Linked DNA regions of Homo sapiens: all the other regions are linked to region 6. Evidence: promoter capture Hi-C in 16 types of primary human blood cells and fetal thymus (Javierre and others, 2016). All regions are on one chromosome and are shown on one strand. The core of a region is centred on a gene start or on the middle of the fragment in contact, and the rest is flanking DNA. Distances in the headings are between cores, read along the strand shown. Region 1 holds the start of TMF1 (TATA element modulatory factor 1). Region 2 holds the start of PSMD6-AS1 (PSMD6 antisense RNA 1). Region 3 overlaps EOGT (EGF domain specific O-linked N-acetylglucosamine transferase). Region 4 overlaps UBA3 (ubiquitin like modifier activating enzyme 3). Region 5 overlaps TMF1 (TATA element modulatory factor 1). Region 6 holds the start of KBTBD8 (kelch repeat and BTB domain containing 8).

Evidence for each region. Contacts are between HindIII fragments. The CHiCAGO score rates a contact against its expected background, and 5 or more counts as called.
Region 1: the fragment with the promoter of TMF1 here is called in contact with the fragment with the promoter of KBTBD8 in region 6 in 13 of 17 cell types (naive CD4 T cells, total B cells, total CD8 T cells and 10 more); the score reaches 32.1 in naive CD4 T cells.
Region 2: the fragment with the promoter of PSMD6-AS1 here is called in contact with the fragment with the promoter of KBTBD8 in region 6 in 6 of 17 cell types (erythroblasts, activated CD4 T cells, total CD4 T cells and 3 more); the score reaches 13.5 in erythroblasts.
Region 3: a fragment that was not itself captured here is called in contact with the fragment with the promoter of KBTBD8 in region 6 in 8 of 17 cell types (M1 macrophages, M0 macrophages, M2 macrophages and 5 more); the score reaches 16.9 in M1 macrophages.
Region 4: a contact is called between a fragment that was not itself captured here and the fragment with the promoter of KBTBD8 in region 6, in 5 of 17 cell types (total B cells, naive B cells, naive CD8 T cells and 2 more). The highest score is 13.0, in total B cells.
Region 5: a fragment that was not itself captured here is called in contact with the fragment with the promoter of KBTBD8 in region 6 in 9 of 17 cell types (erythroblasts, naive CD8 T cells, M2 macrophages and 6 more); the score reaches 9.1 in erythroblasts.

What each region holds. Positions count from the first base shown.
Region 1 is chr3:69,049,890-69,054,506 of GRCh38, forward strand. TMF1 (TATA element modulatory factor 1) reads right to left here and starts at 2,444. Exons shown (of 17, transcript NM_007114.3): 1 at 2,056-2,444. The coding sequence starts at 2,197. RefSeq lists an enhancer at 2,036-2,505. The HindIII fragment of the contact is 2,649 bases long and covers 34-2,682 here.
Region 2 is chr3:64,009,331-64,013,530 of GRCh38, forward strand. PSMD6-AS1 (PSMD6 antisense RNA 1) reads left to right here and starts at 2,634. Exons shown (of 2, transcript NR_189168.1): 1 at 2,634-2,712. It overlaps PSMD6 (proteasome 26S subunit, non-ATPase 6), which reads right to left. Exons shown (of 8, transcript NM_014814.3): 6 at 4,109-4,200; 7 at 1,548-1,625; 8 at 1,221-1,434. The coding sequence ends at 1,338. PSMD6-AS2 (PSMD6 antisense RNA 2) reads left to right here. Exons shown (of 3, transcript NR_038286.1): 2 at 367-423; 3 at 2,467-2,913. The HindIII fragment of the contact is 1,623 bases long and covers 1,738-3,360 here.
Region 3 is chr3:69,001,008-69,005,171 of GRCh38, forward strand. It overlaps EOGT (EGF domain specific O-linked N-acetylglucosamine transferase), which reads right to left. Exons shown (of 18, transcript NM_001278689.2): 7 at 4,133-4,164; 8 at 3,371-3,475; 9 at 601-707. Among named protein-coding and RNA genes, the nearest start is that of EOGT-DT, 10 kb to the right of the region's middle. The HindIII fragment of the contact is 6,572 bases long and covers 1-4,164 here.
Region 4 is chr3:69,066,835-69,071,001 of GRCh38, forward strand. It overlaps UBA3 (ubiquitin like modifier activating enzyme 3), which reads right to left. Exons shown (of 18, transcript NM_003968.4): 6 at 1,094-1,174. Among named protein-coding and RNA genes, the nearest start is that of UBA3, 11 kb to the right of the region's middle. The HindIII fragment of the contact is 2,389 bases long and covers 1,051-3,439 here.
Region 5 is chr3:69,019,716-69,023,938 of GRCh38, forward strand. TMF1 (TATA element modulatory factor 1) reads right to left here. Exons shown (of 17, transcript NM_007114.3): 17 at 112-3,605. The coding sequence ends at 3,462. Among named protein-coding and RNA genes, the nearest start is that of EOGT, 8.1 kb to the left of the region's middle. The HindIII fragment of the contact is 9,838 bases long and covers 1-4,223 here.
Region 6 is chr3:66,995,808-66,999,973 of GRCh38, forward strand. It overlaps KBTBD8 (kelch repeat and BTB domain containing 8), which reads left to right and starts at 2,500. Exons shown (of 4, transcript NM_032505.3): 1 at 2,500-2,564; 2 at 3,174-3,384. The coding sequence starts at 2,549. RefSeq lists an enhancer at 2,158-2,257 and a silencer at 2,598-2,917. The HindIII fragment of the contact is 2,180 bases long and covers 2,464-4,166 here.

The DNA.
Region 1 (4,617 bases), core at 1,194-3,693, 2.1 Mb after region 6:
TAGAAGTTGGTGGAGAGAGCACAAGTAACTAAAAGCTTCTAAAAACTATCAAGCCTTATAGTAGAATCTATCCTTTAATATGACTTCAGGCCAGGCGCAGTGGCTCACGCTTGTAATCTCAGCACTTTGGGAGGCCGAGGCGGGCGGACCACCTGAGGTCAGGAGTTCAAGACCAGCCTGGCCAACATGGTAAAACCCTGTCTCTACTAAAATTACAAAAATTAGGCAGGTGTGGTGACGCAAACCTGCAATCCCAGCTACTCGGGAGGTTGAGGCACGAGAATCACTTGAGCTCAGGAGACAGAATCTGCAGTGAACAGAGATGGCACCACTGCACTCCAGCCTGGATGACAGAGTGAGACTGTGTCTCAAAAAAAAAAAAAACAAAAAAACAAATATATATATATGTAAATATATGTATGACTTCAAAGGCAGTTAGGATGAAAAGTATGTAGAAAACTTCAGTTTGGAGGCATAGTTCTACACATTCATTTGCACAATATCCAAACCAGAGAAAATCAAAATTAAATATGCAAATGAACAACCAAGATTATGTCTGATTAATTTAAATACATTCAAAAGATGACAGGAATTAATTTTGCCTCTTGGAGAATACTTTATATAATCCCAGGGTTATTTGGTATCCATCTAAATTATACCATTCTGAAGACTATGGGCATTTTCCGAAAACAAATATCCTTATATGTAAAACCTATATTCTATCTTATCTAAAGTTTAGTAATTCTAATTAACTGGGGCACATATGAAAAAACAGAGTTACTCCAGCAAGGTTATATGACATCTTGTAAAAAGTAAAGAGGATCATCACATACACACATGGACCAAAATATCTTAAACTGAGGTACCTCAAATTTAGGTCCTGACTTTTCAATGATGTAAAATTAAGAACAGAAACCAGAAAGGAGTAGTCAAGTACATCTCTTATCCTTTTTCACACAAAGGTTCACATCCCCCAACACCAGCAAATCTTTACCCCACACATCAAATGCTGAACTGTTCCTTAGACTTAAGAGTCAAAAGCAACTGAATGAAGATCCCTGAAAGATTAAGCTCAATGAAACTGCAAAGAGAGACTTGGCTATTCAGAAATAAAATGTGATACCATCCAGAAATCTTGGGTCACACATTTTCCGGCTAATACCTCCGGCACATTCTAATCCTCCTCCGCCGTGTGACCTAGAGCAAGTTACTTGGCCATTCTGGGCCTCATTTTCCTCTTATGTAAAACACGGATATAAACCAAGCTCTCTCTGGGAGTTGTTCTGAAGATGAGAAGGCCATAAAAAAGCACATTACAGGCTCGTGCCTGTAATCCCAGCACTTTAGGAGGCCGAGGTGGGTGGATCGCCTTAAGTCAGGAGTTCCACCAGCCTGGCCAACATAGTGAAACCCCGTCCCTACTAAAAATACAAAAAGTTGCCGGGCGTGGTGGTGGGCGCCTGTAATCCCAGCTACTAGGGAGGCTGGGGAAGGAGAATCGCTAGAACCTGGGAGGCGGAGGTTGCAGTGAGCCGAGATCGCGCCACTGCACTCCAGCCTGGGCGACGGAGTGAGACTCCGTCTCAACAACAACATAAAACCACATTACGCGCTACCAAGCGCGAAATGTTCACTGACTGTTAGCGATTGTTCTTCCCTTCCCTGATGATTTACGTACTTCAGACCTTGGATCCCAACAGTGCCCGAGACGCGAAGCAATTCGAGGTTCAGGTTCGGGAAGGTTGTGCTTGGAAGCTGCGTCGAGGGAGAGCTTGAGGGCAAGACCAACCAACCAAGTCCCCTGTCATCCAAGTCCACAAGCCTCGCACCCAGGACCAAAGAAAGACAAGGGGGAACCTGGATCTGGGTTTTCCCTCAGGAAAACAGCAAAGACCGACTTGGAGGCTGAAGCAGCATTAGGGAACGGGCCGGGGAGAAATTACTTCCTGAAAACTCTCTCAGCAAGGAAGGACCCCTCTCTACACCACTTAACCTGCCTGCATCAAGAGAACAGCAGCCTCCGGGAGCCAGGAACCCCGCTCCTCTCTCTCTTACCCGGCTCTCCATACGGAATGGTCTCGGCCCAGATGCTCGGCTCCTCTTCCTGGATGTCCAGAACCCTGTCAATAGACTTCTGGGCCTGGGACAGGGCCTGCTTAGCGAAGCTGGAGAGCTGGGAGGCGTTGAACCAACTCATCGCCCCTCCTCAGCCGGCAGTGGCGGCGGCAGCACCAAGCGGGAAGGCCTCAGGCCTGGGGAAGGGTGCAGAGGAACGGCTTCGCTCCCCTTTTCCACTCGGCTGGTTCTGTCAGCGTGTGGCCATTACCCCGACAGCCTCCCGCGAGCCCGGGATGTTACCCTCGGCCGTTCCCGCACAGCTGAGACGAAGGGGGCCCATGTGCGCATGCGCTTGCTTCTTCCACGTACACAGCAACCAAATCTACGAGCCCAGAGTTCGGTCGACAGACGGAAGAACAGAAGAACGTTGACGTCACATCCGGGAGCGCAGGGTTGCCGTTAGTTACCGAGGAACGCGGAAGGGTTTCTATTGATGTCGATTTCGTGCTTACAGCAGTTCTTAGCGAAGGGGAAGCTATGGCTACCGATAGAGGTCGATTTCCCCGGAAGGAATATTCAAGTTTTCGTGTGTGTGCTTTCCAGGAAAATAGTTCACGTGCTAAAAGCTTGCACCTTGCCAGCAATAATTGCAAAGGGAAATTGGGCCTCACACTTCTCTTAGCCCTTTGTCTCAAATATTTAATAAGCTCTGTATTAACTTGGTATTGTAAGGAGAAACACTTGTTTGGGCTTGCCTAAAAGACAGGATCACGTATGAACACTGTGTCCAACTCGTGGAACACATGGTGCATAAAGCACAACCTCTCTCTCAAAATAGTAGTAAACTCATTGCTGCAGTCAAAATACCCCTAATACTGTGGTCTGTCGGTGTCCCCTGCACAAATTCCTATGTTGAAACCTAATCTCCAATGGGACAGTATTAAGGGGAGCCTTTAGGAGATGATTAGATGATGATGGAGCCCTCATAAATGGGGTTAGTGCCCTTATAAGAGAGGCCCAAGGGAGCTCACGGCAAGAAGGCACCAACTCTAAGCCAGAATAGCAGCCCTCACCAGACACCAAATCTGCCGGCTCCTTATCTTGGACTTCTCAGCCTCTAGAACTGTTAAGAAACAAATTGCTACTGCTTATAAGCCACCCAGTTTATGGCAATTTGTTACAGCAGTCCAAATGGACTAAGACACCTAGGAAGCACTAAAGCTGTTATCCTAACAATGTGCACTGTGCATATTACTTAAAACATAACCTTTTCTGTGTGCATTCTCTTCGAACATTTGGACATGGGAAAATACCTTAAATTGGTGGCCTTCCTAATCCAGTCTGCAGCTATATTTGGTTTGGGCCCAAGTTAAAGACAAAATCCTAACTAAAAGCCAGATTTCATTCAAAAATCTAGATTTCCAGCTGCTTTTGAAAAATATGAATACCAAGCATGGGAATAGTCAGCCAGAGTGGTCACCAAATAATTTTCACTCACTCCAGTTTGCCACAGACCCCTATCACTCATCCTATTACACCCTCCCTGCTGTGATTATTTACCTTATATGCCTGCCTCCCATATTTGAATATTTTACCCCACTGCAAGGAACTCTGCAAAAAAGAATTATTTTTCTTTTAAAAAATCAGATTGAACCCCTTAAGAAGTTATAATCATCTTCCAATAATTTTATCTAACTACAGTAAAAACTTGCATGTTAAAACTAACAATTTAGTCATGTACACAAGTAGTACCAAGTAACTCAAGTACTTTCAAACAGCTAAGTAGTCTGCAGAGGAGATTTGGGGCAGATTCGGGTTGAAATTAGCTGTACAGTTACAGTTCCAAGACTTCTAATTGTACAGCTTTGGTGAAATGACCTACCTAAACCATCTAAAACTATTTATTCAGCTCTCAGATAGAGTCACCTTCTTACAATGCTACTTTGAGAATTATTATAGCACCTATATGGTGCTAAATTTTAGTTCCTTCACTTTCAAAATTGTAAGCTACACCTGTAACTTTTCAGGTAGAGCTTATAAATTTATTCCGTATGGTTTTATAATAAAACTTATTTGTCAATATGTAGCTAGAAAGATTACTGAAAACTTAACTCAGTGACACATAAGTAACCAAAAAACATTTGAACAGAAAACTGCCATATCTAAGTCAAAAACAAAGAATGAGAACACATACATGTTCTCATATTAAAATACTAGCACCTACTTTTTTAGTATTTGTACTTAATTTTGTTTGAAGTTTTATTCACTTAAAAGAAACAAAAACATGGTCAGGCATGGTGGCTCATGCCTGTAATCCCAGCACTTTGGGAAGCCGAGGGGGGCGGGGGGGGGTGGATCACCTGAGGTCAGGAGTTTGAGACCAGCCTGGCCAACGTGGTGAAACCCCGTCCCTACTAAAAATACAAAAAATTAGCCGTGCATGGTGGCAGGCGCCTGTAATCCCAGTTACTCCGGAGGCTGAGGCAGGAGAATTGCCTGAACCGGGGAGGCAGAGGTTGCAGTGAGCTGAGGTTGCATCATCGCACTCCAGCCTGGGCA
Region 2 (4,200 bases), core at 1,384-3,883, 3.0 Mb before region 6:
GAAGAGTTTTTTTATCATGAAGAAATGTTGAATTATATCAAATTATTTTCAATCAAATGAGATCATGTTAACAGGAGTATGTTATTCCTGTTAGGAATTCCATATTAGGAATATGTTATTCCTAATATGTTAACAGGAATCATTCCCATCAGTAAATGTTATTTAAAGCAAAAAAACTCAAAACTCTTCTTTCCTTCCCTTGCCTTTTACAGTAAAATGCCATTTCCCATTCTCTTCTGAACTCACCTCTACCAAAACTGCTCATTAAGGTCACTAGCTGTCTTTCACTTAAGCCAAAAAGCCTAGGATCTCCTCTGACAAATTTTCTCCCCCTCATCCTCCTCACCCCATTCTTCAATCTTTTAGCAAATCCAGCTGCCTGTACAATCCATGCCACCGAATGCCGTAAGTGAGACGTAAAAGGTAAGCCAAATCCGCACTTAAAATTGCCAGTGACTTTCCTCGTCTTTCTTCCCTCCATACGTTCATGGGCTCTCCCTCCTTTTCACTTAAATGTCACCTTACCATAGAAGCCTTCCACAACACCTCAGAAGACGGCCTATACCCTGTATCTCTATCTATCTATCTATCTATCTGTCTGTCTATCTGGTTTTATACTTCTTATAGCACTTATTCCTATCTGACACACTGAATAAAACTGATAAAACTAATAAACTGTTTCAAACAAACAGAGGAACAACTTTGTTTTCCTCACTGCTATTATTACTATGGTCCTACTTTTGGAAAAAAGATTCAGTTTGCTAATAAATACTTACATATAAGGTTTTAGAAAACTGAGATCAGCCTTGGTAGATTCTGTAATCCAGGTTATGTCAGCTTCCTAAAAAAGAGTAACTTCCTGCCTTATATGGTTACTTGTTTCTGAGGGAAAGCTTATTACACATTTTCTTTATCTTCTATCTTTTGTATACTAAAAGTGGGAGACACTGTTTGTTTAATTTTAGGCCACTACTCTTCTTTCTAAAATCGGGAAGCTTACAGGTAAGAGATTTAAAGGTAAGCGATAATGGGCTGTGTCAACATCCGTATTTTACTGACGTATTTTACTGATGAGGCAGTCAGGAGCTGAACCTAGCTGAACCCAGCTGCAACCTTACCCTATAAACCAGATTTTCATTAATGAATAATTCAAGTGACATTATTTTAACATAAGTGGACCCGATTCTAGAAGGCCTATGTGTTTAAGAAAAAAATAAATGGAAAGAAACAACAATGCAGTATTTATTTTATACAGCTGACCTGGGCACATTGTGAAGTAAGCTATAAAAATTCCAAATAATTATCTCTAAAGCAAATCCTTTGTTAGTTACATGGCTTTACATATTAATTACTCTGGAAAGTTTTTGAACTCTGTTTAGTAGCAGATCTCCTTTCTTGATAGTTTCTTGGTACTGCCAGTTCTTGCTATCAGGTCTATAAATAAATTCAAGAAAAAATGAATTATTTACCAGTCACATTATTCCATGACAATAGTTGACCTACTTTTAAAATTTAGGAATGCCCCTTATTCTGAGAAATGAGAGTACCTGTTGGTTTCTACTATTTCATTCACTTTATCTATTTTGCAGTGTAGTCTCCCGGCAGCAATAAACCTGGACAGTTCCCTAATTTAGAGACAAAAAATAACAGAATTAGCTTTATAGAAAATTCTTAGAAAAATGCAAACGGCATTAAAATACTGTCTTAAATTTGTAACAAACATTTAGCTTCCCTTCAAGCTTGTTATTGCACATGCAGTAGTTGACGTTGTCCCTCCTATACTGCAGGCTTTAAGTCATCATCTACTAGAATAAACATGATCCTAGAAGTTCATATTCAGATAGATAGAAAGTAGATCAAACAATGAAACCATATGTACTCAGAGAAAAACTGTAGGTTAGGAAAAATTAGGGACCAAAACTGATAAAAACAGTAAACTGTTTCAAACAAAAGACCTAAAACAAAATTATGGAACACAGCCCATCAGTAAACATGTCAACAGCAATAGTATTAACATGTCAACAGCAATAGTATTTACTAAAACAACGACCCTTTCCCTCTCTAACATATCTTAGTCTAAACAAGTGGAAGGGAAGGGGAGAAATGATGTAGAATTATTGCTTTGCCCATTTTAAAAAAGGGGATTTCATCTAAAATGTAACTTTTTAAGGGAGAAAAAAAGAATAAAGAATCCATGACAACCCAGATTTGAAATTCTTAGGTATCACAGAAATTTAAAACAAGGCCTTTTTAGGTAACAACAACTAGAGCTCAGTGGTACAACCTTTGCCTCTCAAGCTGGTCTTAGAACATGAAGGGAAAAAAAAAAAACTGAACAAATACTACCTGAATTCAACTACTACCTGAAAGGTACCAGCTGCCTTGCATTCACTTGTCATCAAGATGACTTAAGGAATACTGCGGTGTGTGCCCCTAACTAATGAAGGCTTTATCTCCACATTACAGTTACGATACTGAAGAGACGTAACCTGACCAAGGCCACAGAGCTGGAAAAAGAAGCAAAGCCAAGCCGTTTTTCTCATGCACTGCTCACAACAAGCCCCTCCTTCCACTGACTCATGAAAAACACACTCATAATGCCCAGCCCGCACCCTAATGAACAGCCCTCTTAAGAGTGGTCATCAGACTTCAATTTCACAGACTAGAATTGAGAAATGGAACAAAACCTTGGGATACCAGCCTTCCATTTTGGTAGGGATCATTTAAAAAATGGTAGGGATCATTTAAAAAATGTGTTGGTGTCTGAAACTTACTTTGAAGTGGTTAAAAAACATAAAATGTATAGATTGTAACAAGCAAATATGTTAAAATGTACTGTACAATTCTTTCTTTACAATTTTATGGATGTTCGAAATTTAAAAAATACTAGAAAGAGAATGGTCTTATTTAAAAGAAATGCATCTTCATTTAAAGTTTCCACTGCAGACCATTGAAAACACCATCATCAACATTTAAAAACACCTACATGTGGGAGCCACTGATCTAGATGCCATCTGGACATCCCATATTGAGTATGTCTCCTACCCAACTCTACTCTCACCACCCTCGTCCACGCCACGGTAACATCTCCTCTAAGAGCTACTAAACAGCACAACTGGTCCTCTCTGCCACCTTACTCTATTTCTTATATAAAGACACTGCATAGGACCATGTAACTTGGGCTCTAAATCTTCCAATGGCTCCCTATCAAACTTACTTAAAACTCAAGCTCCATCCCATGACCTACAAGGCCCTACACAAATCATTACCTACCTAACTCTCCATATATTATCCTCAAAATCTCCTACCACTCCAACTATGCTGGAGCCACCCTGACATTTTCTGTTCCTACAACATCCAAGCTTATTCCTGGCTCAAAGCCTTAGCCTTTTCTATTCCCTTTTCTGCACGCAGAAGGACTCCATATGGCTGACTCCTCTCAATTCAAATCTCAGAGCAAACCTCACCTCCTTAAGCATGCCGTACGTAAGGATAGCATTTTCTCATCTCCATAGGTTCATTTCTATATGTGAAATTACGTTTTATATTTATTTGCTTCCTTGCCATCTCTTCCCTACTACTACAATGAAAGTGTGAAAAGGGAGCTGTAAAACAATACCAAACATATAGTAATGAATGGCTCATTAAGTATTTATTTGTTTAATCACTGATGCAAGTACTAAAAGTCCCACATTTAACAACCAATCTGACCAGAATTGCAGCAGCAACCTAAAAACTGGAAGGAATTATCAGAGGGAATATGACCAACTGTAAATATCAGATCTAAGAGTCATTACCGTAGCTGCAGTGTGGTCTACAAAGAAGTAACAGAAGACAACTTTTGATAACAACTGGTCTAATGACCTTTAACAAATCACTTAGCCTCACTACAACTCATCTTCCCATCTGTTAATGCAAGGGGCAGACATGACATGAGGAAGGCAGAGGCAACAGGATACGAATGTTTTGATAATACTGAGGAAAAAAACCTCTCCCCTCCCCGTTAAGATTGAGGGAACCAATGTAAACAAGTAAAAAATTGTACAAGTTCACATATTTTAAAAGGCAACTTTAAAACTTCAATTAACATGGCATTATTCAAACTTACTGATCAATGAATTCCACACCAACACCAAACGCTTCTGCCATATAGCCAAGGGTTAATGACCTATATGATTCCAGCAGCTGACTGTATGCATG
Region 3 (4,164 bases), core at 157-2,656, 2.0 Mb after region 6:
GTGCAGCGGCACGATCTTGGCTCACTGCAACCTCTGCCTCCTGGGTTCAAGCGATTCCCCCGCTTCAACCTCCCGAGTAGCTGGGACTATAGGTGCCTGCCACCACGCCCAGCTAATTTTTTGTGTTTTTTTAGTAGAGACGAGGTTTCACCATGTTGGCCAGGATGGTCTCGATCTCCTGACCTCGTGATCTGCCTGCCTCGGCCTCCCACAGTGCTGGGATTACAGGTGTGAGCCACCGCGCCCGGCTTAGCTTTTGATTTTAAACATCTTAATGAAAGACAATCTAAACCAAGTGATTAGAGAAACCAGATGAGGTAAATTTAGTTACAAAAGGCATAAATATGCCTTCACCTCTCGTCCTTTGATTTTGGTTAAGTCCTTTGATATAAATGTGAAAGTTTCTTCTAAAATGCCCAAGTTATAAAATAATGGGAAGTTCAAATTAGTTCAACTACTTCTTCAGAGAAGAAAGCAAAAAAAACAAATCTACTGTTTGTCATACTGCTTCCAAAAAATTCAGAGAGAATTACTACATCCAAAAAAAGGAATAATATCTCATTAACAAATACACAAATAACAGAAAAAGTTATTTCTCACCTGCATCTAATTTCATGAAATATGTTGGTTTTTCAATGACAATGTCACATTTAGCATCTTCTATAGGTCTGAAGTTGAGCTGAGTATAGCTTTGTAGCTCAGCAAACCTGAAATTATGAATTGGGACATGACTTCAAACTGATTCTCCCAAACTTCCTATTAGAACACTGTAACTTAGGATCTGTTCATTAGGCAGATTTTACCTCTAAATGGTACAGACACTCCTATGGACACCTGTAACTTCTAAAACTTACTGACTTTTATATAGGTTGATATCAATTTTAATGTTAAGACAAGGAACAGACCGGGTGCAGTGGCTCAAACCTGTAATCCCAGCACTTTGGGAGGCAGAGGCAGTCAGATCACGAGGTCAGGAGATCAAGACCATCCTGGTCAACACGGTGAAACCCCATCTCTACTAAAAATACAAAAATTAGCTGGGCGTAGTGGCGAGCGCCTTTAGTCCCAGCCATTTTCAGGAGCCCGAAGCAGGAGAATCGCTTGAACCTGGGAGGCAGAGGTTGCAGTGAGCCGAGATGGTGCCAAAAGGAGCCGAGGCTTACAACAACCTGAGTGAGTTTAGCAGCAGATTCTCCAGGCCCAGGTTGAGTCTAGAGATGGCTACAGCCCTGGCCAACTCAGCCAAGCTGCTCCCAAACCCTGACCCTCAGAAGTACTGTGAGATAATAAATGTTTGTATTTTAAGCTGCTAAATTTTAGAGTCATTTGTTATACAACAATAGGTAATAAATATAAATATACCCTAGGGTACACTTTGGAATAGCCTGTCACACAGCAATAAGCAACTAATACAATTATGCCCTGAGCAACTACCATGTGGAATCAAATATCAGAAAGTACCAGGAATCAAAAAGCCCACTTGAATATAGAAACTACCTCTTGTAAAAGTCTGCTAAGTGACTTGAGACATTGCATTGCAGACTGCAAAATCCCAGATAAATGTGTGGTAGATCATTATTCTGAATGATCTGCAGCCAGGCAGTGAGGCCTCTTTAAGGACAAAAAAAAAAAAGGTTTGCTCAGCATGAATTTCTTTTTTTTTTTGAGACAGGGTCTTGATCCATCGCCCAGGCTGGAGTGCAGTGGTGCAATCATAGCTCACTGCAGCCTCGACCTCCTGAGCTCAAGCAGTCCTCCCGCCTCAGCCTCCCAAGTAGCTAGGATTACAGGGGCATGCCATCTCGCCCAGCTAATTTATTTTTATTTTTTATTTTTCTTTTTTAGAGATGAGGTCTCATCATGTTGCTCAGGCTGGTCTTGAACTCCTGGCTTCAAGTAATACTTCTGCCTTGGCCTCCCAAAGTGCTGTGATTATAGGCATGAGCCGCCATTCCTGGCCTTGGTATGGACATTTGACCTTACAAATTAACATTATGTAAGTAACCTATGTGACTATACAGGAGTAGCAGGAGAGTTTCTTTGGGATGATGGAACAATTCTGCATCCTGATTGTGGTGGTCGCCCTCCCCGTCCTCCTCCCCCTCTCTCTCCCTACCTACATACCCGCACCTACACAAGTGATAAAATTTTAATGAGTACAGGTAATTGCTGGTAAAACCTGCACAAGTTAATACTACTGTACCAATGTCAATTTCATGGTTGTGATCATTGTGCCATGGTTATATGAGATATTATCATTAGAGGAAGCTCAGGGAATTAGACAACGTACAAGTTCTCCTTGTAGTATGATATGGTTTGGCTGTGTCTCCACCCAGATCTCATCTTGAATTGTAGCTCCCATCATGGGAGGCACCCGGTGGGAGGTAACTGAATCATGGGGGTGGGTTTTTCCTGCGCTGTTCTCAAGATCTGATAGTTTTATAAAGGGCAGTTCCCTCTGCACACGCTCTCTTGTCTGCTGTCATGTAAGACGTGCCTTTGTTCCTCCTTTGCCTTCTACCATGATTGTGAGGCCTCCCCAGCCATGAGGAACCATGAGTCCATTAAACCTCTTTCCTTTGTAAGTTAGTCAGTCTTGGGTATAATACATACTATTTTTAAACTTCTATGAGTCTAAAATTATTTTAAAATACAAACTTTTTAAATTCAAAAAGCTGGCCAATGATGTTAACAGTCAGAGTAGCATCTACCTTTGGAGAGGGGGATGGGGGTAGAGCCTGGGAGGGAGACTGAGGTGCTGACAATGTTCTATTTTTGGACCTGGGTAAAAGTTACATGGGTGGGTTCACTTTTTCACAATCCAAACTGTACCTTTTTCTGTATGCTTTTACATACTTTAATATATGTGTATTGTTTTTTAAATGGGTTCCCCAAAACACATTTTTATTTTTTAGATTTGAGGTCTCATCATATTGCCCAGGCTGGCCTTGAACTCCTGGGCTCAAGTAATACTTCTACCTTGGCCTTCCAAAGTGCTGAGATTATAGGCATGAGCCACCATTCCTGGCCTTGGCATGGACGTTTGACCTCAAAAATTAACATTATGTAAGTAACCTATGTGACTTTGTAAGTGAATAAAACTTGGCAATTGTGAGTTAATAAAAATGGATTTTTAAGCTGATTTTTTTCTTTCATTAGCAAACAGTAAGTACTGTATCTACTATTATAAACACATACTTAATTCAGATGCAACTGAGGGATTCACTCGGTTTCCGTCACTTCCCAGAAGCTCATGCCAAATTATGTACAAATGAAGTAACATTTTCCATTTGAGAGTCTCCATTAATATCTGCAAGTGCCGTAAATAAAGGCAAATATTTCCGAAACAGATACGTTAAAAATATCTTACCATGACTGCAGAGGGCTTTTGCGCTGACCTTCAGACGTCAATGTACGGATGTCAAGTTTACAGTGCCCTCCAATTTCACCACTCTGGAAAAAGTCCTCCTTAAATCTGGTATATAACAAAACATTAAGTTAAGTTCAGAAAACGTCTTCATGACCCAAGCACGTGGGTTGTAACTAAAGTGGATTACCAATTTCCAAACTGAATTTTTTAAAAGAATTTAACTATTTACAATAGAAAATTTCAAGTGTATATGAAAGTAACAGAATCCTATCAGGACCCTAATGTATCCACAACCCAACTTTGCAATGCGATTAACTCATGGCCTGTCTGAGTCATCCATCCCCCCACCCATTCCCCAACCCCTCTGCCATATCATCAAAAACAAATTCAAGATATACCCCTTCAGCAAGGCTTGGTGGCTCACACCTATAATCCCAGCACTTTGGGAGGCTGAGGTGAGAGGATCACCTGAACTCAGGAGTTTGAGACCCGCCTGGGCAACGTTAGAAGACCCCATCTCTTCAAAAATTAAAAAATTAGCCAAGCCTGGCGGTGCGCTTCTGTATCCCAGCTACTTGAGAGGCTCAAGTGGGAGGATCACTTGGGTTTGGGAGGTCACAGCTGCACTGAGCCATGATTACACCGCTGCACTCCAGCCTGGGCAACAGAGCAAGACCCTGTCTCAAAAAAAAAAAAAAAAATCCCTGGATCTGAAAATATTTCAGAATTTATACTAGATGTTAACATTAACCACTAAAGTACCTGTCATGATTTCTCTTGATGTTTCTTAAATC
Region 4 (4,167 bases), core at 995-3,494, 2.1 Mb after region 6:
GATTTGTTGAAGACTATGCTTCTTCCATTGGAACTGTTTTGCACCTTTATCAAAAACAAATTGGCCATACTTATATGGGGCTATTTCTGGCTTCCCTATTCTGTTCTAGTCATCTATATATCCCTCTGGTAACGCCACTGAGTCTGGATTACTATAGCTATATAAGTCTAGAATTTGGATAGTGATTCCTCCCACTTTCTTTTTCAGATTTGTAGTAGGTATTCCTTTGCTTTTCTATATAAAATTTTAGAAGATCGTCTATATCGACAATTTTGCTGGGATTTTAATAGAAACTATGGTATATATGTATACAAATTTAGGGAGAAATGACATCTTTACTATATTTAATCTTCCAATCTTTGAAGATGGACTATCTCTCCATTTATTTAGATTTTCTTTGGTTTCTTTCATCAGCATTTTGTAGTTTTTCACTATATAAATCTCTTACTTATCTTGTAGTTTACATCTAAGTATTTATTTTTCTTTCTAAGCAGTTGTAAATGGCATTGTATTTTACATTAACTTTCACAAGTTCACCGGTATGTTGATTTTGTATTCTGTGGGACTTTCTACATAGAAATCACATCTTCTGACTTTCTATAAAATGCCAAAAGTTCTCCAGATCTAAATTCAAACTACAGTGTAAATACTCCTTTTTAAAAACATATTTCTTGTAAAAATAAATTTACTGTGATGTACCTTCCATTTGGCTAATACTATATTGACTGTCTACTCTGTCTGCTACTATAAAGAAACAAAGATTAATTGGATCCAGCCTAGGAATTTACACTCTAGTAAAGGAGATATGTAATTGATACTGAAATTAAGGGCAATAATGCAAAATAAAGTAGATGATGAAACAGGCTTTATAAACTTAAGTTAAAAATCAGGGCCCAAAAAATATTTATATAACCATACAGAAAAGACTGGAAGAATAGATAGCAAAATGTTACCAGCAGTTATCTCAGTAATAAAGTTACTACTGCTGACTTTTTTTCCCTCTTGCTTATCTGTATTCTCTGTTAAATATCTCTTATAATAAAGGAAAAAAGCTTTTAAAAATTAAGTAATTTTCTTTTTGTCAAAAGGATACGGAACTACATTGCAATTAGGAACTCTGTCATTTAGAAATTCTGCAGCAACTTCAGCCTTAGGTCTTCCAATATCTTTAGGCCTACAGGAAAAATATTTAAATTATAATTCATATTATAAATCTATATGATCTACATAACTTATTTTCAAACATAAAAGTAAATTCACAGTAAGTTTACTTATAGGAAATTTAGAAGGAATATTTTTGCCTAAGTATTTTGATTTCAGTAATAACTTTTGGTAAACGGTCATTTAACCTTAAATGTCAACCCTTGCTAATGGTCCAAATTAACATAAGTCTAATTAAGTATTGCTTTAATTAAGAGAAAATCTGAACAGTGTTCTTCCTCCCAGATAAAGCATAATAATGCTATGATTCCTGGCCACTTTCCACTGTAAAAAATTATCCCACTCTTAGAGCTCAGAACCTTATGGTGTTACTCCACAGGTCTTGGCTGAAATATACACAATAAGATTCATCCTTGGGATGCAAGAACCTTCATTTAACCCCTTCTTCCTGTGTGTGCTGATTAAGCAGCAAATTTTGTGTCCCCTAAGAAGCTGCATGAAAAAGAAAAAAAAAGAAAAAAAAAATTTCACTGGACCGTATATAAAATGGAAAAAAAAAAAAAAAAGAGGCTGTAACCACGTTTTTTTCTTTTTTCTTTTTGAGACGGAGTCTCACTCACTCTGTCACCCAGGCTGGAGTGCAGTGGTGCGATCTCGGCTCACTGCAACCTCCGCCTCCCAGGTTCAAGCAATTCTCATGCCTCAGTCTCTAGGGAGGTGAGATTACAGGTGCCTGCCACCACAACCAGCTAGTTTTTGTATTTTTAGTTTTGCCATGTTGGTCAGGCTGGTCTCGAACTCCTGACCTCAGGTGATCTGCCCGCCTCAGCCTCCCAAAATGCTGGGATTACAGGCATGAGCCACCATGCCCGGCACCAAGTTTTTAAAGAAAGAATAATACCAAAAGTGTCAGCTAAAATTGCAAATGTTACTATTACATCACAGAAGCTGAATATATAAGGCCTCAAAAGGTCACTCTTAAAACAATAACCACACATATAGATAGGAAAGGATATGAATTTCCTCCTCTAAGTTCTATACAAATGGTATTTTCTTTCCTAATATTTCCATATTCTCCTCAGAGAAATCACTCCATGTATATAATAAGAACATTATTACTTTTTTCGTAACATATTTGCTACATACACGTCTATCATACCCACTAGACTATTATTTGGATGAAAGTGACCATGTTCTTACTCTCTTCATATTCCTTCCTACCTAGCACACAGTAAATACTTTTAAAATAAATGAAAATAATAAATCGTGTGCTTATTAGAAAAAAATCTGAAATTTCAAAGAAAAACACTTTAGCATGTCAATTTTTCTTTTCTTTTTTTTTGTTTGTTTGAGACAGAGTCTCGCTCTGTCACCCACGCTGGAGTGCAGTGGCACAATCTCGGCTCACTATAACCTCTGCCTCCCAGATTCAAACAATTCTCCTGTCTCAGCCTCCAGAGTGCTGGGACTACGGGCATGAGTCACTACGCCTGGCTAATTTTTGTATTTTTAGTAGACACAGGGTTTCACCGTGTTGGCCGGGCTGGTCTCGAACTTCTGACCTCAAGTGATCCGCCCACCTTAGCCTCCCAATGTGCTGTGATTACAGGCATGAGCCACCATGCCAGGCCAATTTTTTTTCTCTCCAATAAAGCACTGTTCTTTTTTGATTCAAAACTTTTGGTAAATGTTTTATCTTCACTTTGTACTAACTTACATAAAAAAGGCCCTGTTATAAATCAAAGAACTTAATTTCAGTATTGCATTCAATGGCTCCACACACAGAAAGCTCTTTTGGTTTGTAAAAGGGATAAAGTAGACTTCTAAGATTATTTTAAGTAATATATTCTATGTGCTTTTATGGCACGGCCCAAACAAAAGAACTCCTAGATGGTTTCTGGGAACTGTTTGTTAATTTACCATTCCAGGATGAAACAATCAGATTGCTCCACCTCAATAAAATGGCCTTTCACACACATCATCCTTGCAGGACACTCTGCCCAAATTATTTAACCTTGAACACAAGAACCTACCCTGAGGTTGCTGAGATTAAATGGAATAATATGGATAGTTTAGAAGTACTTGCTACATATCGTTATTACCATCTTCAACCATTTTAGCCACAAATTAAAGGGTATGGCCTGTATCAATAACAAATCAATTCAGTGGTATCTTTTTCAGAGAATTCACAACTCAAAATTTGACAAGCTGGACAGAGCCCACAAACTTTGCTATAGAGAAGGGAAATTTCAAAGGTTAAAAAATAAACAAAAAATAAAGCTTAAAAGTTAAACATTAAGGGTCACACTGCAATTACAACACTTCATTAACTTATTTTAATCCATACTTCAGTCCCATTAAGATCTTCCACAAAGATAATGTAGAGGTTTTATGCCTATCCAAAAACTTAATGTTACCTTTTTTGCTAGCTCAACTTTATCCTATATACCCAGAACAATTTGAGCACTGTCAGTAACAGATGCAAACTTCCTAAATAGAGAGAGAAAAAAAAAGTCCTTATCTCTGTGTATCTTTGACTAACAAATATACACTTTTACCTAAACTACTCAAACCCCTCAATATTACATACTAAATTCATGAATGAACATTTCTTCATGTCTGGATACATGGTCTACTTCAGTTTTTGTTTTTTGGGTTGTTTTGTTTTTGTTTTTGAGACAGGGTCTCGCTCTGTTGCCCAGGCTGGAGTACAGTGGCATGAACACAGTTCACTGCAGCCTCCAGATCCTGAGCTCAAACGATCCTCCTACCTCAGCTTCCCATGCAGCAGGGACCACAGGTGCACACCCGGCTAATTTTTTAATTTTTTTGTAGAGACGAAATCTCCCTTTGTTGCCCAGGCTGGTCTGGATCTCCTGGGCTCAAGCAATCTTCTCACCTCAGCCTCCCAGTGTTGGGATTACAGGTGTAAGCCACCATGCCTGGCCTCTACTTCTCTTCTTAAACTCATCTTTAACAAATCACTCCTTGATGTTCTCTATATTC
Region 5 (4,223 bases), core at 876-3,375, 2.0 Mb after region 6:
TCTTAAAATATTAATCTCAAATGTAAACAAGTTATATTTTCATAAAACAATATTCATTCTTCACTCATTACTATTGACCACTATAAATTTTGTTAAAAATGAAATACACTATTACTATTTTAAAATCTTTATTCAATCAGATCCATGCTTATTTACATTACCTTTCATTTAGAATTAAAATATATCAATCTGTAGTTTAAATCATACTTTCAGCCCTTTACAAAATATGTGATTAAAGTTTTCATGGTTTAAAATGGACCTAGAATATGGAAAATTGGATTCACTTTAATGAAAATGAAAAATTTTGATACACTAGAACATAAATGTATACGTACTAAACATACAGTATTAAAACAAGATAAAACATCTACAGTTTTCTTTTTTCTTCTATTTTCTAAATATTATAAATCATATACTTTTAATAAGCATTCAAATAAAACTCTCAATAAATGCCAACTGAAGAGATGGAGAAAAAAAATTTCCTGAACATTCTTTTCACTTACTTCACTACAAACTTCATGTTTCCTAGGTCAGAAGTTATCCACATTTAGAATATCTTAAGTCACAACATAGATATATTTGGTACATTCCACATGCTAAACACTGTACAACTGGCAATTCTCAAAAAATAGGTAAAAGAAATGTAAGAAATGGTAGACTCAGTTTAGCCTCCCAAGAATTGGAAGGACATCTACAGTCTGTGCTTAATTGTCTATAAATGACCAAACAACCTTCCCTTTGTTTACTCATTTTTTTATATTCTTGAAAATGTTATTTGCAGCTTTTTTCTTTCAAGAATGGAAACATCTAATTGCAAATCATTTTCCTATCCATTAAAATATAAATATTATTTTGCAAGAATATGGGTAGAGATGTTTTAATGACAAACAGCAAAGTATAGCAACGAATATTCAATAGGTATTCTGCCACCTACTGGAGTTTTTCAAGAAACTGTTTAAGTTCACTTTAACTTACAGAAGTATTGAGAGATCCAAGTGTTTAACAATCAAAATATGATCAGTTTGAGTATCAGCTATTTATTTGTAGATAAAGAGTAATATATGGTAATATGTAACTAGAAACTATGTAACTAGAAATTGTTAATACGGATAAAAAAAGAATGTTTAATTTTATAAAATTGAAAAGTTTAGGAATGAGTTTTATTGCAATCTTTTCTCTGCAAATGAAGTTTTTTTCTACTAGTGGATATTTTAAAGGGACTATTTTATAATTCCAAAACGTCTAGTTTCAAATGCTTCAGAGAATTTTGTAACTTAAGTTTCATATAGAGTAGTCTCCCCTTATCCACGATTTTGCTTTCTGTGGTTTCGGTTACTCACGGTCAACCACAGTCTGATTACAGGTGAGTACAGTACAATAAGATATTTTGAGAGAAAGAGACAGACATATCACATTTACATCACTTTTATTACAGTGCACTGTTATAATTGTTCTATTTGCAGTTATTGTTTATCTCTTGCTGTCCCTGATTTATAAATAGAACTTTATCATAGGTATATATGTATAGGAAAAAACAGTGTATAGAGGTGTCTATACTATCCATGGTTTCAGACGTTCACTGGGGGTCTTGGAACGTATGTCCCATGGGTAAGAGGGAACTACTATATTTTCTAATTCTATACATTTCTTATTGCTTATCTGTCCTGTCATTCTGCCCTTGAATATTACACACACAAAAAAATCAAGCTGACAAAAAGCTATTAGACTACTTTTTACTACTAAAATGAAGAAAATTAATTTTATGAATCTGGCTCACACTGAAAGAATATTTATTAACACTACCAATCAGAGATCCAATGACAGAAACACTGTCTGGAATACAAAAAGAACAAAAAATGAGGTCATTTGAATTGCCCTGAAAAACTCCAAATTCTTCAAGATGGTGTACTTGTATCTATATTCTGAAGTACTAGTGTTTTAATTTTAACTAAAAATTAAATAAGAGTTTGTTTTTTTTTTTTTGAGACGGAGTCTTTCTCTGTCACCCATGCTGGAGTGCAGTGGCACAATCTTGGCTCATTGTAACCTCCACCTCCCAGGTTCAAGCAATGCTCCTGCCTCAGCCTCCCGAGTAGCTAGGATTACAGGCGCACACCACCACGCCAGGCTAATTTTTGTATTTTTAGTAGAGATGGGGTTTCACCAAACTGCTGGCCATGCTGGTCTTGAACTCCTGACATCAGGTGATATGCCCGCCTTGGCCTCCCAAAGTGCTGGGATTACAGGCATGAGCCACAGCACCTGGCCGTAAATGAGAGTTTTTATGTGCAAGTAAAGGCAGTTAAATAACTTTCAGTAATAAAATGCATCACAATATTTCACAGGTTTAAAACACAACCTGGTTACCTTTTTGAATAAAATAACATTTGGAAGAAGGCATAGCTACTTTTAAAAGCTATTCTATGCTTTCCTTGTGTTTGAAATTTCAAGAAAAAATAAAATGATAAATCACAAAATTAAAAATGCCAAATTCAAGTTAATTCCTATAATTCTTCCATTTTGTTATGAATATTCTGTAATATCAAACATTCATTTTTAATGTGCTAAAAATATGGGTTTACAAAATATGAACAGGTAATTTTTAAAGAGTAAATTATGTTAAGAACTTTATTATTTTCGATTCATTTTATAGGGTAGTAAAATAATACTTCTTCAAAATCATTTAAATGTTATTGATGCCATTGCAAAATCATTATAAATAAATTTTCTCCATTATCCAATCACATCTAGATAACATTGAATATGTACAGGTTTCTCTGGATAGGTACCAAAAGGTACCACATTTTATACAGACTTAATTGTGAAAGCTGGGTGAAATAAATTTTCAGATCAAAATTTTTTTTAAGTTTAAATCATTCACTCTTTAAATTTCAGACAGTGTCAGTGTGACTCTTACTTTTAAAGGAAAAAAATTAGTTTAAAATTTAATAGCCACAGATTTAATAATTTTTTACTTTAACACTTAATGTACATTTTCATGAGCAGTAATTAAGATATGTTGAAATTTTAAATGTGAAAGATTTCAAAGTTTCAGTATGTTAACATTACTCTTCAAATGTTCTTAATATATATATAAACACTTACAAATTATAGATACAACTAGTTGTATATCTACAATACATATATGAACACCATTCTTCTTCTCTAGCCATATTTATATGAGGATAAAGTAATAAATCTCTGTGCTATTCAAGGAAAAAAAATGAATGCTTTAAAAAATAAATCTTTAAAGAATAGTTTCAAAAATAAAGTTCAAATATTGCACAAAATAATTTAACTGTAAATATTACTACATAGTGTAAAACAATTTTAAAAAAATTTTTACACTCTACAGTAAATCCCACTTTCTAATTCTATAAAAGAATTTATTGGAAGTCCACATTAAATGTTTAGATATTAAATGCTTACATTCAGTTTGATGGGAATTCAATTTTCACAAGTTAACTGAGACTTTGTCTTAAAAGTTCATCTATTTGAGTTTTGTACATATTTTTTACATCTTCGAGATCTAATCGAAGTTCTTCTGCCTCTTCTGCTTTTTCTCCATACATCTGCAGAATAGTGTTGTACCTTTGATCCAAATCCTGAAAAATGTATTTGTTTACAATTTTTAAAATAACTACACAGAACATCTTTAATATTTATATTGCCATAGGAGTCAACAATGAAAACACTACAATTTAAATAAAAGTATATACTCATCTCTTTTAAAAATTAAACTCACACTTCAGTCTATGTTGAACTAAATAGCAAAAAAAGGAATTAAAGAAAAAAACCAAGCTAGATGGCTATCAATTTTACCCTATCTCTCCACTAAATCTACAATTCTCCCCATATATGACTTCTCTCCCATTAATGTAAGCACACTTGATATAAAATTTAGTCTCTTTGTTCCATGGTGGTATAAGTATTACCCGGCATTTAGCCCACACCACAGGAAAGATCAAAAGAAAACATATTCTCACTTATGGCTTAACAGTGTCTTCTAACATCCAGATGAGACAATTGTGATGATACATATAACAACAATCAACAAAATATTACTAAGATCATACAAAGTTCAATGTTATAAATGAAGTGTAGCCAAATGAAATCTAGTTCTTTTCCTATACTGGGACTAAACATGATTGTGAAAATTACTTTGAATATGTAAAGATACAAGCAAGATAAAAGATTCATTTTTAAACTTCTTTGCTCAAATA
Region 6 (4,166 bases), core at 1,250-3,749:
TAAGTGTCTAATTTGAACTAAATATAGGACCTTCAAATATTCTGGTTCAGTTTTTCAGTTTCCATCCTTAATTGATTTTACTTTAAACTTTAAATATAGGAGTAAATTGCAATATAGTACTTAATACCTTAAGATGAAAACTGGTTTACTTTTGCTGCTCTTTCCAGATGTGCAGTAGATTCAGGAGGTTTTTACTAAAATTCAAATTAGAGGTGTTTGAAAACAAAGCTGTAACCTTTGGCTATTTAGTATCAATCCTGAAAAGGAATCTCCCCAGTATTCTTACAGATCATTGAGAAAGAATTGTTGTGGTACAACTGACTGAATTTCGAGATCCTCCTACATATTCTGTGTTTTTTAAAAATGCATTTTAGTGATGATTAAATCTTTACTATGTAATGCCATCTGCCCAGTAGAATGGAGTCCATTTACAGTGTCATATAAATGGCAACTTTTTACCTATAATTTTTTTTCTATTTATTTTTAGATTGGCTTTTGTTCTTTGTATTCTGCTGCATCTCCAATTTATAAATCTTTGTGGGTCAAAGAATCAGAACACTGTCTTCTCACTAATCAAACAATATTGTCAAGTCTGTTTGTTACTAAGTTGAGAATTGAATTTTTAAAAAATTGGCCAAGTTTCTTAAGGCTTAAATAGATAGATGGCTACAAAACAACAACAAAGCACAAACAAAACTCCTCTATTTTAACAGATTTGAAAAGGTTGCCAGATAAAATACAGAACACCCAATTAAATTTAAATTTCAGATAAACAACAAATGATATTTCAGTTTAAATATTTCTCAAATAATGCATGCCCTGTATTTTTATTTGCAATATCGTCAGATGTTGTCAAACCCTAAGGATTAACGCCATTTTTTTCCTCAATACTAACCATATTGTCATAAAGTGCTACCATTTTAATAAATTAGAAAGCAACATCATAAAAACGAAAAAATAAAGTTATGAGTAACCAAAATTAAGTCAATTTCATCTATCCAGAAACGTGCATACAGGACATTCACAAAGAAGAAATTATAAGTGCATATGTATATGCAGAAACCCCAGTCATGAGGAAACACCACTTCCTGTTAACTTGCATGGGATTATAGTATTTTAAGTTCTAAATTTCTCAGCAGACCTAGAAGACAGAACTGAATTGTTTTTCATAATTATTTCTCTTTCTCAATCACAATTTAAATTCCAAGATCCTTTCTTTATCAAGAAGTTCAACGGTTTGATCTTTTCAGTGCTAGAAAAGTTATGCACACGGGCTAACTATATGTCTACTAGAAATTCTTCCCATTCGCTGATACTTCCTTACATTTTAACATCTAGAAATAGCATTCCCAATGTTAGCTCATTTGCACCTTACATTTATTTTTAAAATATGAAACATCTATAATGTGCCAGGCACCCCGTTAGATGTTAGAAACACAAGATGAGTAAATAAAAATTCGTCAACAGTAAAATTTTGATTTTCTTTCCAAAAGGTTGCAGCCTATGAAATCCATGGAGTACGGATTACTATTACTTCACGTTACAGATGAAGGATCTAAGCGCTCAGGGGTTGAAAGGTCTTATGTCAGTTCTCACATATAGTGACTAAAGAGCCAGGGCTTCAGTAATCATCCCTGGCTCCGGGCTCAGGGCATTCCGGTATTTTTTCAAAGGAAATTCCGGAATACTTAGTATTGTATCCCCTCCATTTCCCAAGAGCAAAAAGTAAAGCATCTTGGATCCCCTTGTAATGTTCACGTGAGGAACAGGTGTTCTCTGGGTGTGCTAGAAAAGCAAGGCACCAGTGGGAGTTGAAGATCCTAAGCAGCCGCTGTAACCAGACCAAGTTAATCTGTGGAAACCAGAGCACCCGGCCAAGGCGATGCTATTTCAATTGGGTGTCATAGGTGACTCATCAGAGACGCCTTGCTTTTGGGCCTTGTGATATTTTTCTTCAGGGTGGGACGTCAGATTTCCTTTGCATTTTTGGACAACAGCCCTCCTGTCCATTTCCACATTTTTCTGGTTTTACAGCTCTCACGCAGAGCTTGATTTCATACCGGAAGCTAGTCACTGGCAGGAAGTTTACGGAAGAAGAAAAAGGTAAAAAAATGTGCCGGGGGCCAGGAGAGAGGCCTAAAATGGGGAAATTCGCACTTGAAGAGCTTTCCCTACCCCAGCCCCTCAGAATGACAGTTCTCCTCCGCCAGAAGACTACCTCTCCCGGCAGGCACTGCGCGCTCGACGGCCACAGGCTGGCCAGCTCCCTGCTCTCCACCTCCATCCGAATCAGCCAATAGGAATTCCCGGCTTGGGCCTCCGCCCGACCCGGACCACGCGGGAGCCGGGGCAATCAAACTACATTTCCCGACACGCATGTGCTCGCGTCGTGGCCAATCAGCGCCAGGAATTCGGAGGCTAGGGGTGGAGCCAGATGCACAGGACACCCCATTGGCCAGGGGAAGCTTAGAAGAGCCGGAACCCGGGAGCTAGAGAAGCGAAATGACATTTCCTTTTTAAATAGCTGGAGTCGGGGCCCCATCGAGAAATGGCCGCGTCGGCAGGTGGGTCGTGTGGTGGCCAGGGCGGCGTGGAGGGAGGTGAGGGGGAAGGTGGGCCGGGGCCGGCCACAGGCAGTGGGATGAGGACGTAGCGGTGCGGAGCTAGAGGGAAGGATGAAGCGGTGGAGGGGAATGAGAAGAGGGAGGATGAATGGTGCGGAGGGCGGTGGGCGGTCCGGCGGGACCGGGATGGGGAGGCTGGGTACCCGCCGGCGCTGCGCCCCAGGAGGCAGCGGGAGGCGGCTTGAGGGGGCACCGGCGGCCGCCGTTGTTCGAGCTTCCCTCGTGAGGCTCTGCCCTCGGCTCTCGGCGGAGTCCGCGCAGACGCCTCTCCTGGGCTGCGAGCGCGTTTCCTCCGCGAGCACGGGTGCCGGGCTCGCCGGGCTCCGCAGGAGCAGGCTGGCCTTTGAACTTGTTCCGCCGATCGCGCTCCGCCCTCTGTCTCCCAGATCCTTAACTCGCGGTCCCACGAGGTCGTGCGTATATCCACAGACATTTGTATATATCTTGTAGGGGGAAAAAGCCTAGCAAGCAGACACACAAACAGAAAAATCCCGCGATGCCGTAACTGGCTCGGCACTTCTTGTAGTTGTACGATTTTTCTCCTCCTAGATTTAAGTAAGTCTTCCCCAACACCGAATGGGATTCCATCTTCAGACCCAGCCAGCGATGCCATGGACCCCTTCCATGCTTGCAGTATTCTTAAGCAACTCAAAACAATGTACGATGAAGGACAGTTGACAGACATTGTAGTGGAAGTGGATCACGGGAAAACATTTTCCTGTCATAGAAACGTTCTTGCTGCAATCAGCCCTTACTTCAGGTATGATGATGGTAGGAACTTCTGTTGGTATCTGCACCAAGCTCCCTTTCCCCCTCAGTATTGTCCACTTGATGTTTATATTGAGATGCGATAATGAAATGAAACCAATGACTTTGTTTCTTGAGACTAGAAAACAAGTCCTCTCTTAACTAAGACCTTCTTTTGACTTGAGGGATTCTTCTAGATTTCGGGTGATTGCTTTTTAAGTTAGTGGGCCTGTGTGTGTGTGTTTGAGGTAAATGACCAGAAAATCTAGACTTGTGCTGGTCAGTATGGAAGCCAGTAGCCATGTGTGGCTGTTTAAACTTAAATTATAAGTTAAATAAAATAAAACATTTAGTTCCCCAGGTACACTAAATACTTTTTGAGTGCTTGCTGGTCACCTGCAGCTAGTGGCTGCCATATTGGGCAGCACAGAAATACAGCATTTTCATCATTGACAATTTTATTGGACAGTGCTGATCTAGAATTTCTTTCAAAAAGTTATCCATAATGCATGTTTCTTTAGTGTATGGGACTCTTTTATAAAATAGTTTAAAACATGTAGCATGTTCCTTCAAAAACAAATTACCACTCAATAGATTGTTTAAATGCTATGGGGGTCAAAGCAAGAATGAATATAGTTTCTTTGTGCCTAAGGCCCCAAATTAATAATATCCAAGATTTCTAGAAGTATGTTAAACGAAGTTTTTGTTTTTACTTATATTGTCTACTATAAAACTTTTAAAAGTAAAATTTAAAAACTTGGGTCTGAAAAATAACTTCCTACTTTAAGATGAGTG